Regions from separate parts of the Homo sapiens genome. Here region 2 is linked to region 1. Evidence: promoter capture Hi-C in 16 types of primary human blood cells and fetal thymus (Javierre and others, 2016). All regions are on one chromosome and are shown on one strand. The core of a region is centred on a gene start or on the middle of the fragment in contact, and the rest is flanking DNA. Distances in the headings are between cores, read along the strand shown. Region 1 holds the start of CXCL2 (C-X-C motif chemokine ligand 2). Region 2 overlaps LOC105377277 (a long non-coding RNA gene).

Region 1 (6,076 bases), core at 1,436-3,935:
CATCTTGGCTTTGGTGGGTTTTAGCTGGCTTCTTTACTGTAACCTGTTTTATCAGCAAGGTCTTTATGACCTGTATCTTGTGCCAATCTCCTATCTCATCCTGTGACTTCGAATGCCTAACCTACTGGGAATGCAGCCCAGCCCAGTAAACCTCAGCCCCATTTTGCCTAGCCCCTATTCAAGATGGAGTTGCTCTGGTTAAAACGTCTCTGCCATATTTCCCCCCTCCATATTTTTAAGGAGGTAAATTTGAGTAGCAAGGTAGTAAGGAACTTCTTGTAAAAATGGCAATATGTATCAGTGATTCTCCCATCAGGGGCAAGACCATAGTTTGGTAAGGCACATTCTTTACTAGGTGAGAGCCAAGGGGAGTGACAGCAATCACCACATGAAATTAGGCATAATTCATAGTTTATCTGTATAGCAGATTGAAAACCCAGAAAAAAATTGAGAAATAAATATTGATGTAAATCATCAGATTTTTCAGCAAATATAGTCCTTGTTTCCCCCAAAATAAAACAAACATTTTATATTTTTAAATATTTTATTTTCCTGTTCTTTGTGAAAACATCAATAAATATCGAAACCTCTCTGCTCTAACACAGAGGGAAACACTGCATAATTAACATTAAACAAGGCAGTATGCCTTACAAGAAAGACATAAAATGTCCAAGGGATATTTAGAACATTTTAGTTCTTAAAGCTTCAACATGAGAAATGTTGACCACACACTGTGAAATCATTTCAATAAATAACAACTGACATTCATCTTTACAGTTACAAAATAGACACACATACATTTCCCTGCCGTCACATTGATCTCACTGGCCATTTTCTTGGATTCCTCAGCCTCTATCACAGTGGCTGACATGTGATATGTCATCACGAAGAAATATTAACAAATGACTAGAGAATATCTGCAAACCTTCTATCTTCAAATTAAATATGAATCAGGATTGAACTAACTTGGGTTTGACCTAAAATAAACAATAAATATAATGGGAGAGTGTGCAAGTAGATTCAATCATAACCTTATTTTACACATAAAATATTAACATAGAATCTTCTAAAACAAACAAATAAATAAATAAATAAATAAATAGAAGACTTCTCCTAAGTGATGCTCAAACACATTAGGCGCAATCCAGGTGGCCTCTGCAGCTGTGTCTCTCTTTCCTCTTCTGTTCCTGTAAGGGCAGGGCCTCCTTCAGGAACAGCCACCAATAAGCTTCCTCCTTCCTTCTGGTCAGTTGGATTTGCCACTGTAATGAGAAAATGGGTGCCCTGAGTAGGTGCTCAGGAAAGCTGACTGCACAACAGTCTTCTCCTGTCCTGTTTCCCCAGGCTCTAGAGTTTTCTGAATGCAGTTTCCCCAGCCTGGCACCCAAGTGGGTACTGCCTGTGACAGCTGTGCTGTGTGGCAAGGACCTCTAGGCTTGGGATGCTCTTTTAGGAATGGGGGTGACGTGGGGTGGAGGAGTGGCAGTCTACACTGTTTTACTGGCTAAAACAGCCAGAGCCTATTGCTCTTTGTCATACTGGGCCTCACTTGAGCCTCAAAGCAACCTCATGATGTAGCTACCATTATTTTCCCTGTTTTGCTGAGTCTCAGATAAACTAAATAATATTGTCTCTGAGTGACATGGCTAATAGGTGGTGGCAACCAGTTATATACCCAGTGCAATATTATTGTGAAATCTCTGCACTTCAACCCTAAACTTTTACAAAAAACCAGGGGGTCTGCTTTTCAGGTCTGAAAGTCAGTAGGAACTAGGGGAAATGAAGCTTGTGTTTTTTAACAGGTGGAAAACACTTCAGCACAACTGGCAAACTCCAATGAGACCTTACATGAAAGCAGTTTTACCTACATTCACTGGCAGGAGGGAAGAACCTGGGTGGTGACCCTGGGCACTGGGAATATCCTCTGGCACCAGAACAGATTAATAACCTTAATGGCAACTTTGTGAAAATAATAATTTTTTCAGTCCTGCAGCTAACCCTGGGTTTTCCTGATTTACTTTTTAGGGGGCAGACGCCAGTATTTCTGACCAACAGCTCCAGTCGCCTGTGTACATGGAAATTATAACTTACTTTTTCAGCATCTTTTCGATGATTTTCTTAACCATGGGCGATGCGGGGTTGAGACAAGCTTTCTGCCCATTCTTGAGTGTGGCTCTGCAGAGAGAAGGGAATCTCGTGAGACAGGAGGTCGGGCTGAGGACAGGGTTTGGGGCAGCGGGAGAGTCGGGGACCCCAGCAGTGGCAGCGGCAGCGATGGGCGAGACTTACATGACTTCGGTTTGGGCGCAGTGGGGTCCGGGGGACTTCACCTTCACACTTTGGATGTTCTTGAGGTGAATTCCCTGCAGGGTCTGCAAGCACTGGCAGCGCAGTTCAGTGGCCAGGGGCGCTCCTAGGGAAGAAGAGACTCGCTGATTGAGCGGGGCTGTCGGCGCGGGGCGCCCACCCCAGCCGCGTCCGGCCCGGGGACCCCAGGGCGCCGGGACCCACCTGCTGCGCGCCGGCTGGCGGCCACCAGGAGCAGGAGCAGCAGCGCCACCCGCAGGAGCCGGGGATTGCTGGGGGCGGCGGAGAGCGTGGCGCGGGCCATGGGGCTCAGCAGGCGGTTCGAGCGGCTGTGCGAGGAGGAGAGCTGGCAAGGAGCTGCCTGTGGCCCGGGCTCTGTGGCTCTCCGAGAACGGCGAACCCCTTTTATGCATGGTTGGGGCTGGAAAGCCCGGAGTCCCGGGCCAGGGAAATTCCCGGAGCTCCAGATCGATCCCGAGTTCGGAAGGAAGGCGATGGCCCCGCCTCTGGGGTGGAGGGGGGTCGGGGCACTCACGAGTGACGTCCGGGTCTGACTGTCTTGCGTAACTCCCGCCAACTGTGGGATGTTCTCTTTCTGCCCCGAATCCCTGGAGCGGGAGCGAGAGCCCGCCGCTCTCAGAGATACCGAGATAACCGCCTGCGAGGAGGCGCTTCGTGAACCCAGTGCAGTGCGTCGTGGGTCAGATCCCTTAGACCCACGTAGGGACCGCGCTACATCCTTACCGGGGGGAGTTACTTCTCTGGAAGACATTTCAGTTGTTGGGATTGAAAGTTAGGGCAAGAACTGCAGCATGTCTTATCTATCCTCTCTCTTTAGTTTGGGTTCTGCAAATTTCATTAATGTTTGAAATAAACGCACGCTTTAACAGTACATGTGTCATCTCAGATGACGCATAAGAGCTTTTGTCTCCTTCCTGGTGTTTTATGATCTTAAAAGCAAATATCACGTGTGTGTGTGTGTGTGTGTGTGTGTGTGTGTGTGTGTGTGTGTGTTTCAACGTAGTGGAGCCAGGTGTTGGGTGCGGGAACAGACCATTGCCAAGGGTCAATTCAGTGTTTATTTTAGTTAACAGTGTTGCAATCCCCCATCCTTTCTCTCTTTGAAATCTTGGAACATCTCGAACTCTAGTAATTCCAGTAGCATCAATTTTTTGTTGTATGGAAGTCTGTGTTTTGATCCATGGAAGTCACTGGGAGCTGCGAGGGGCCTGTTGGGCTCAGGAGGTCTGCCTTTTCTAGTGCTGTCCCTGGGCAGAAAAGGCCATAGACACCACCAGAAAAGGAGCAGGGAATGAGACTCCGCTTGTTTACTACTCTAAGCACAAGCAGACATGTCTGATATATACATACTAGATTGCTAACATAATTGCATTTCCATGCCATATGTATTTACCAGCATCCTGGGATTGGTTCCCTCTAGAGAAACAGCTATCGAGGAAATTTTAGTTCTAGAGGAATGTCAATAAAGCATTTCCAAGCCTGTTTAGCTGATGCCTTCTCACTGGATTACTGACTTTTCATCATCAATTTCAATGACCCCCTCTCTTTAAAAATTAAGCTGTAGGCCTACAATACTCTGTCTTAATTCTTCCTGGTGGATGCAGACTTCAGGGATATGGAGATATTCTGCCACTGCTATGAGAAGGGCTGGGAGTGGCACGAGGATGAAGAAGTGGGACTACCTTAGGAATAGAGTGTTCCCTGGATGCTGCAGCTGTAGAGATCACTTGATAAGGATGTCAGGGCTGAAGTTTCAGCCATACCACTAACTTGCTTCATGACCCTTGGTAATTTATGCTTTATTTGCTCATGTTTCTCCCCTGTAGAAGAGCTTATAATAGTGCCTGCCTCACGGGGTTGTTAGAAGTATTGATTGTTAATATGTGTAAACCATCAGTGCATGTAAAGTGTTATGTAAATATTTGTTAAATAACAAAATAGAAGTGGTGTTTCACAACCTTACTGATATAGGCTGGATGTTTGTGTCTCTTTCAAATTCAGATGATGAAGCCCTGACTCCCTTATGTGCTAATATTAGAAGACAGGACCATGGGAAGTAATTAGGTTTAGGTGAGGTTATGAAGGTATGGCCCCCATGATGGGATAAGTGCCATTACAGCAAGAGATCAGTGAGCTTTCGATCTCTGGCTCTCTCTCCCTTTCTGCATTGTGAGGACACAGCAAGAAGGCCACCATCTGCAAACTGAGAAGAGGGCCCTCACCAAGCATGAAATCTGCCAGGATCTTAATCTTGGACTCCCCAGCCTCCAGAACTGTGAAATAATTGTTGTTTAAGCCCCCTAGCCTATGGCATTCTGTTATAGCAGCTCAAACTGACTAAGACACTTAACTAAACAGAAGCACTCTGATAAAGCCTTATGAACACACACACGCACAAAGAAAGAAATATTTTCAAAGAAACATCTTCTAATTTACCTTTAAAATTTTTCAGCATCAGAAATTTTAAAGGAGGGTGCATTTCTATCCTTATGGGATCTTACAATAATTTTTTGATCCATTGTTTGTTTGAAATTTTAGTTTCAATCACTTTCCACATAAAATGAGAATAAGAGTAAAATTCTACCCTATCCATTTATTAGAAAAGATTTATGAAATGACTCTGCCTTGGGCATTAACAGCTAGCTGCCCAAACTTCTTTATTTTGTGCTAAAGAACTAAAGAACAATAGAAAACATCAGCTTATAATGATTGCCAGACTCATCCCAAAGTATTGATGTGAGTAAATAGAAAGAGTAAAATTTCTATTATCTACAGTAACAGTCCCTCAAAAAGATGAGAAATTTCAAGAATCAGCCCATCATTTGTAAAATTATGTACGTTATTCCTAGAATTTGTTTACTAAAAATTATTTGCTTTAGGAAGGGAAGTAGAATTCCTTTTTCTTTTCTTAATATACCACTTTCCATGATTTAACTTATGACAGCCCCAGACCAAGCTTCTGAAGTTTTTAAGGGTACCAGTGTTATGAAACTTACCATAATAAATTCCTTCTTGTCTTAATATGAGTTGAGTGCCACTGTTACAGGCACAAGTTGTAAACCCATGCAATTACTAACTCAAAGATGCTATCTCTAAAATGGAAGTACAGTTTCCTAAATTCCATTCTCCCCTTTAATTTTTATTGTATTTTTCAGATTTGACTAGTACAATCTAATATACCTGCAAAATGTAGGCTTGCTGCTCCATGCCGACCACTGACATTCTTGTTACTTGGGCAGCAAAATGAGTGGTGTGGCTCTGCTTTACCGTGAATTGCCTTGAAGACTTTGCTGATATAACCTCCAACATATAGCTTGCTCCTCTAGAGGAACAGACTAGAAAATAAATAAAGAAGTACAACTGATTTTAGAGATAGATCTGATGGAGGTTGAGATATGGGGCTCTGGAATTACAGAATAGAAGACAGATAACATGGTTCATGATAAGACTTGTTAGTCCTCACACTGTTTATGCTTAGTGACTCCTTTGCTTTCAGGTTTTGCTGCCACGCATACAAAGTGGACAGTGGTACAACCCCTTTGTTGTGTCTGACTGCATGAAGAAATACATAATTGACTTAGTTACATACTATGTGTATTTCTTGTTATTTTTTTCACTAAAGAATTAAGGCAGTCTCTCAATGACCAGAGCCTAGGAATACTTCCTAGTATTATAAACATTGCAATTGACATGTTCTGTGGGGCTTTTGTGATTTTTTGAAAACTGTGGTTTATATTCATTGTGCTAA
Region 2 (5,705 bases), core at 2,812-5,311, 34 kb after region 1:
TGTGGTTACCTTGAGGCTTACAATAAACATCTTTTAAATATAACAAGTTATTTTAAGGAGATGACAACTTAGATCACAAATGAAATAGAAATAAAAGAGAAAACTAAAAAACAAAACTGTTCACAAGAATATTCAGGACTTGAACTCAGCTCTGGCTCAAGCAGACCTAATAGACATCCACAGAACTCTCCACCCAAAATCAACAGAATACACATTCTTCTCAGCCCCACATCATCCTTATTCTAAAATTGACCACATAATTGGAATAAAACACTCTTCAGCAAATGCAAAAGAACAGTAATCATAATAAACAGACTCTTGGACCACAGTGCAATCAAATTAGAACTCAGGATTAAGAAACTCACTCAAAACCACACAACTACATGGAAACTGAACAATCTGCTCCCGGATAACTAAATGAAACAAAGGCATAAATAAATAAGTTATTTAAAACCAATTAGAAGAAAGACACAACATACCAGAATCTCTGGGACACAGCTAAAGAAGTGTTTAGAGGAAAATTTATAGCACTAAATGCCCACAGGAGAAAGTGGGAAAGATCTAAAATCGACATCCTAACATTACAATTAAGAGAACTGGAGAAGCAACAGTAAACAAATTCAAAAGCTAGCAGAAGACAAGAAATAACTAAGATCAGAATAGAACTGAAGGAGACAGAGACACGAAAAACCCTTCAAAAAAATGAATGAATCCTGGAGCTGTTTTTTTTGAAAAGATTAACAAAATAGATAGACCACTAGCCTGACTAATAAAGAAGAAAAGAAAGAAGAATCAAATAGACACAATAAAAAATGACCAAGGGGATATCACCACTGATCCCACAGAAATACAAACTACCATCAGAGAATACTATAAACACCTCTACACAAATAAAATAGAAAATCTAGAAGAAATGGACAAATTCCTGGACACATACACCCTCCCAAGACTAAACCAGGAAGAAGTCGAATCCCTGAATAGACCAATAACAAGTTCTGAAATTGAGGCAGTAATTAATAGCCTACCAACCAAGAAAAGCCCAGGACCAGACAAATTCACAGCCGAATTCTACCAGAGGTACAAAGAGGAGATGGTACCATTCCTTCTGAAACTATTCCAAACAATAGAAAAAGAGAGACTCCTCCCTAACTCATTTTATGAGGTCATCATCACCCTGATACCAAAACCTGGCAGAGACACAACAAAAAAAAGAAAACTTCAGGCCAATATCCCTGATGAACATTGATGCGAAAATCCTCCATAAAATACTGGCAAACCTAATCCAGCAGCACATGAAAAAGCTTATCCACCATGATCATGTCCGCTTCATTCCTGAGATGCAAGGCTGGTTCAAGATATGCAAAAAAATAAATGTAATTCATCACATAAACAGAACCAATGACAAAAACCACACGATTATCTCAATAGATGCAGAAAAGGCCTTCAATAAAATTCTGCACCCTTCCTGCTAAAAACTCTCAATACACTAGGTCTTGATGGAACAAATTTAAAAACAATAAGAGCTATTTATGACAAACCCACAGCCAATATCATACTGATTGGGCAAAAGCTGGAAGCATTCCCTTTGAAAACCGGCACAAGACAAGGATGCCCTCTCTCACCACTCCTATTCAACATAGTATTGGAAGTTCTGGCCAGGGCAATCAGGCAAGAGAAAGAAATAAAGGGTATTCAAATAGGAATAGAGGGAGTCAAATTGTCTCTATTTGCAAATGACATGATTATATATTCAGAAAACCCCATCATATCAGCCCAAAATCTCCTTAAGCTTTATCAGCAACTTCAGCAAAGTCTCAGGATACAAAATCAATGTGCGAAAATCACAAGCATTCCTATACACCAATAATAGACAAACAGAGAACTAAATCCTGAGTGAACTCCCATTCACAATTGCTACAAAAAGAATAAAATACCTAGGAATACAACTTACAAGGGATGTGAAGGACCCTTCAAGAAGAACTACAAACCGCTGCTCAAGGAAATGAGAGGACACAAACAAATGGAAAAACATTCTATGCTCATTGATAGGAAGAATCAATATTGTGAAAAAGGCCATACTGCCCAAAGTAATTTATAGATTCAATGCTATCCCATCAAGCTACCATTGACTTTCTTCACAGAATTAGAAAAAGCTACTTTAAATTTCATGTGGAAACAAAAAAGAGCCCATATAGCCCAGACAATCCTAAACAAACAGAAAAATGCTGCAAGCATCATGCTACCTGACTTCAAACTATATTACAAGTCCACAGTAATCAAAACAGCATGGTACTGGTAACAAAATAGATATACAGACCAATGGAACAGAACATAGGCCTCAGAAATAACACCACTCATCTACAACCATCTGATCTTTGACAAACGATAAAAATAAGCAATAGGGAAAGGATTCCTTATTTAATAAGTGGTGTTAGGAAAACTGGCTAGCCATATGCAGAAAACTGAAACTGGACCCCTTCCTCACACCTTAAACAAAAATTAACTCAAGATGGATTAAATACTTAAACATAAGGCCTAAAGCTATAAATGCCCAAGAAGAAAACCTAGGCAGTACCATTCAGGACACAGGCATGGGCAAAGTCTTCATGACTAAAACACCAAAAGCAATGGCAGCAAAAGCCAAAATTGACAAATGGGATCTAATTAACCTAAGGAGCTTCTGCACAGCAAAAGAAACTATCATCAGAGTGAACAGGCAACCTATAGAATGAGAGAAAAATTTTGCAATCTATCCATCTGACAAAGGGCTAATATCCAGGATCTACAAAGAACTTAAACAAATTTACAAGAAAAACAAACAAACATGCCCATCAAAAAGTGGGTGAAGGATGTGAACAGACACTTCTTAAAAGAAGACATTTATGCGGCCAAAAAAACATATATAAAAAGAAAGCTCATTATCACTGGTCATTAGAGAAATGCAAATCAAAACCACAATGAGATACCATCTCACACTAGTTAGAATGGCAATCATTAAAAAGTCAGGAAACAACAGATACTGAAGAGGAAGTGGAGAAATAGGGATGCTTTTATATTGTTGGTGGGAGAATAAATTAGTTCAGCCATTATGGAAGACAATGTAGCGATTCCTCAAGGATCTAGAACCAGAAATACCATTTGACCAGCAATCTCATTACTGGATATATACCCAAAGGATTATAAATCATTCTACTATAATCACACATGCACAGGTATGTTTCTTGCAGCACTATAGCAATAGCAAAGATGTCAAACCAACCCAAATACCCATCAATGATAGATTGGATAAAGAAAATGTGGCACATATACACCATGGAATACTATGCAGCCATAAAAAAGGATGAGTTCACATCCTTTGCAGAGACATGGGTGAAGCTAGAAACCATCATTCTCAGCAAACTAACACAAGAACAGAAAACCAAACACCACATGTTCTCACTCATAAGTGGGAGTTGAACAATGAGAACACATGGACACAGGGAGGGGAACATCACACACCAGGGCCTGTCAGAGGGTGGGGCGCTAAGGGAGGGACACCATTAGGAGAAGTACCTAATGTAGATGACGGGTTGATGGGTGCAGCAAACCACCATAGCACATGTATACCTATGTAACAAACCTGCACATTCTGCACATGTATCTCAGAACTTAAAGTATAATAATAATGAAAAAAATGCTCTACACTTTAACTCCACACCTCCCACAAACACTTTGAATTTTTATTATATCAGTTCGCATATTTTAAAAATATCTATTTTGAACAGGTTGTTGTCGCTATTATTGTTTTTGATAGATTTGTCTTTATAAGCTTCTTACTAGAGTTATGATTGGATTGCACACCACAATTAAATTATTAGCATATTCTGGGGTTGTGTTCATACTTAATTTTACCAGTGGGTTTTATACCTTGAAATATTTTCTTTTAGTTAGTACACTAATATGTTAGCATTTTTTAATTTCAGGTTGAAGAATTCCCTTTAGCATTTCTTGCAAGACGGGTCTAGTAGTGGTGAATTCTCTTAGCTTTTGTCTGTGAAAGACAATTTCTCTTTGTTAATGCTGCCCTATTTCCTTCTGGCCTACATGGTTTCCATTGTGAAGTCTGTTGCCAGATGAACTGGAGTTGCTTTGTTATTTTACTCTTTTGCTGCTTTCTGGATCTTCTCTTTGTCTTTGATATTTGAAAGTTCAATTATTATATGCCTTGGTTAGTGTTACTTGGGTTGAATCTGTTTGGTGTTCCCTGACCTTTCTATATCTAGATATTTCTGTCTTTCATGAGTTTTGGAAAGTGCTCTGTTATTATTTCTTAGGATAAGCTTTTCTCCCCTTGCTCTTGCTCAGCTCCCCCTTAAACACCAATAATTTTTAGATTTGGTCTTTTGAGGTAATTTTCTATATTTTAAAGGTGGCCTTCATTTCTTTTTATTGTTTTTTTCTTTTCTTTCTTTGGACTGTATTTTCTTAATAGCCAGTCTTTGAGCTCACTGATTCTTTTCTCTAACCCATTCTGTTATTGAGATCCTCTAAAGAGTGTTTCAATTCAGCAAATGTGGTTCTCCGTTCCAAGATTTCTGTTTCATTTTTAAATTATTATTTCAATTTTCTTGTTAAATTTCTCTGATAAGTATCTGAATTGTTTTTCTATGTTATCTTGTAGGTCACTGAGTTTCCTTAAAATTGCTATTTTGAATTCTTAGTTATAAAGTTCACATATCGGTTTTCTAATCCCAAAATGGCAGCATAGAAGCAAGCTTGCTTCTCTCCCCTCCACCAGAAACCAAAAAGAAATACACAGCAGCAAGATCTTCACCAGCAGCAACCCAGAGATCCTGTATGAGGATGAGACAGTTCCTGTAGGTACAGAGAAGTGGAAACATTCTGAGCAGATGGTAGGAGAACCAGATTCTACATCCATGAGGCCTCTTCCCTGCATTACACCAGGCATCAGCAGTATGAAAAATCTGCCCTCAACTCATGGTTTCTGCACTGAAAAACGTGAAATTGAGATTGTCAACCAGCTTTCCCATCTTCTTCGGTTTCCTGCCAGGAGACCTGCCTTTGCCTTAAACCACAGGTAGCACTGTGACTGCCTGGAGGGAGAAATGTCTGTGAAGGCTGGCAAAGACAAATAGGGAAGCCAGGACTACCATCCTCAGCCGTAAAAACTCCTTGTAACTTGACCAAAGGAGATGCCAAATCAGTAGAAATCATGTAGCAAGTATGTTCCACAAGTCCCCTGGGAACACACCCGTGGCCGGCCTTCCCACAGTGCTAGGGTAATCCCTTTGGTCCTCCTCCTTATGGGACAGGCAGTGCCATGGCCATTTGCAAAAGTCAAGGTAAACATAGGCTTATGGCGCCATCTAGAGCCGAAAACAAGGCAGCAAGCTGGCAGTTAAGATTCATAAGCAACTGTATTCAATAAAAACCAAACCAAACTAGACAGATAAAGCTGGACTAAATAATTATTAATACAAATACATAGATGTATACCCACAAGAAACAACAGCAAACATGGAACCATAACCTTCTAGACAAAGCAAAGTTCCAGCGACTGACCCTCCTGAGATGGCGATTTGTGAACTCTCTGACCAAGAATTCAAAACAGCTGTTTTAAGGAAACTTTGTTATCTCTAAGATAACACAGAAAAGCAACTCAGATATTTATCAGAGAAATTTAACAAGGAAATTGAAATAATGAT

The links. Contacts are between HindIII fragments. The CHiCAGO score rates a contact against its expected background, and 5 or more counts as called.
Region 2: a fragment that was not itself captured here is called in contact with the fragment with the promoter of CXCL2 in region 1 in 1 of 17 cell types (megakaryocytes); the score reaches 6.7 in megakaryocytes.

Annotation. Positions count from the first base shown.
Region 1 is chr4:74,096,510-74,102,585 of GRCh38, forward strand. CXCL2 (C-X-C motif chemokine ligand 2) reads right to left here and starts at 2,686. Exons shown (of 4, transcript NM_002089.4): 1 at 2,512-2,686; 2 at 2,290-2,413; 3 at 2,092-2,175; 4 at 531-1,262. The coding sequence starts at 2,611. The coding sequence ends at 1,247. The HindIII fragment of the contact is 3,135 bases long and covers 2,148-5,282 here.
Region 2 is chr4:74,129,078-74,134,782 of GRCh38, forward strand. All of the region lies in intron 1 of LOC105377277 (a long non-coding RNA gene), which reads right to left. It also overlaps a transcript of MTHFD2L not described here. Among named protein-coding and RNA genes, the nearest start is that of MTHFD2L, 26 kb to the right of the region's middle. The HindIII fragment of the contact is 511 bases long and covers 3,807-4,317 here.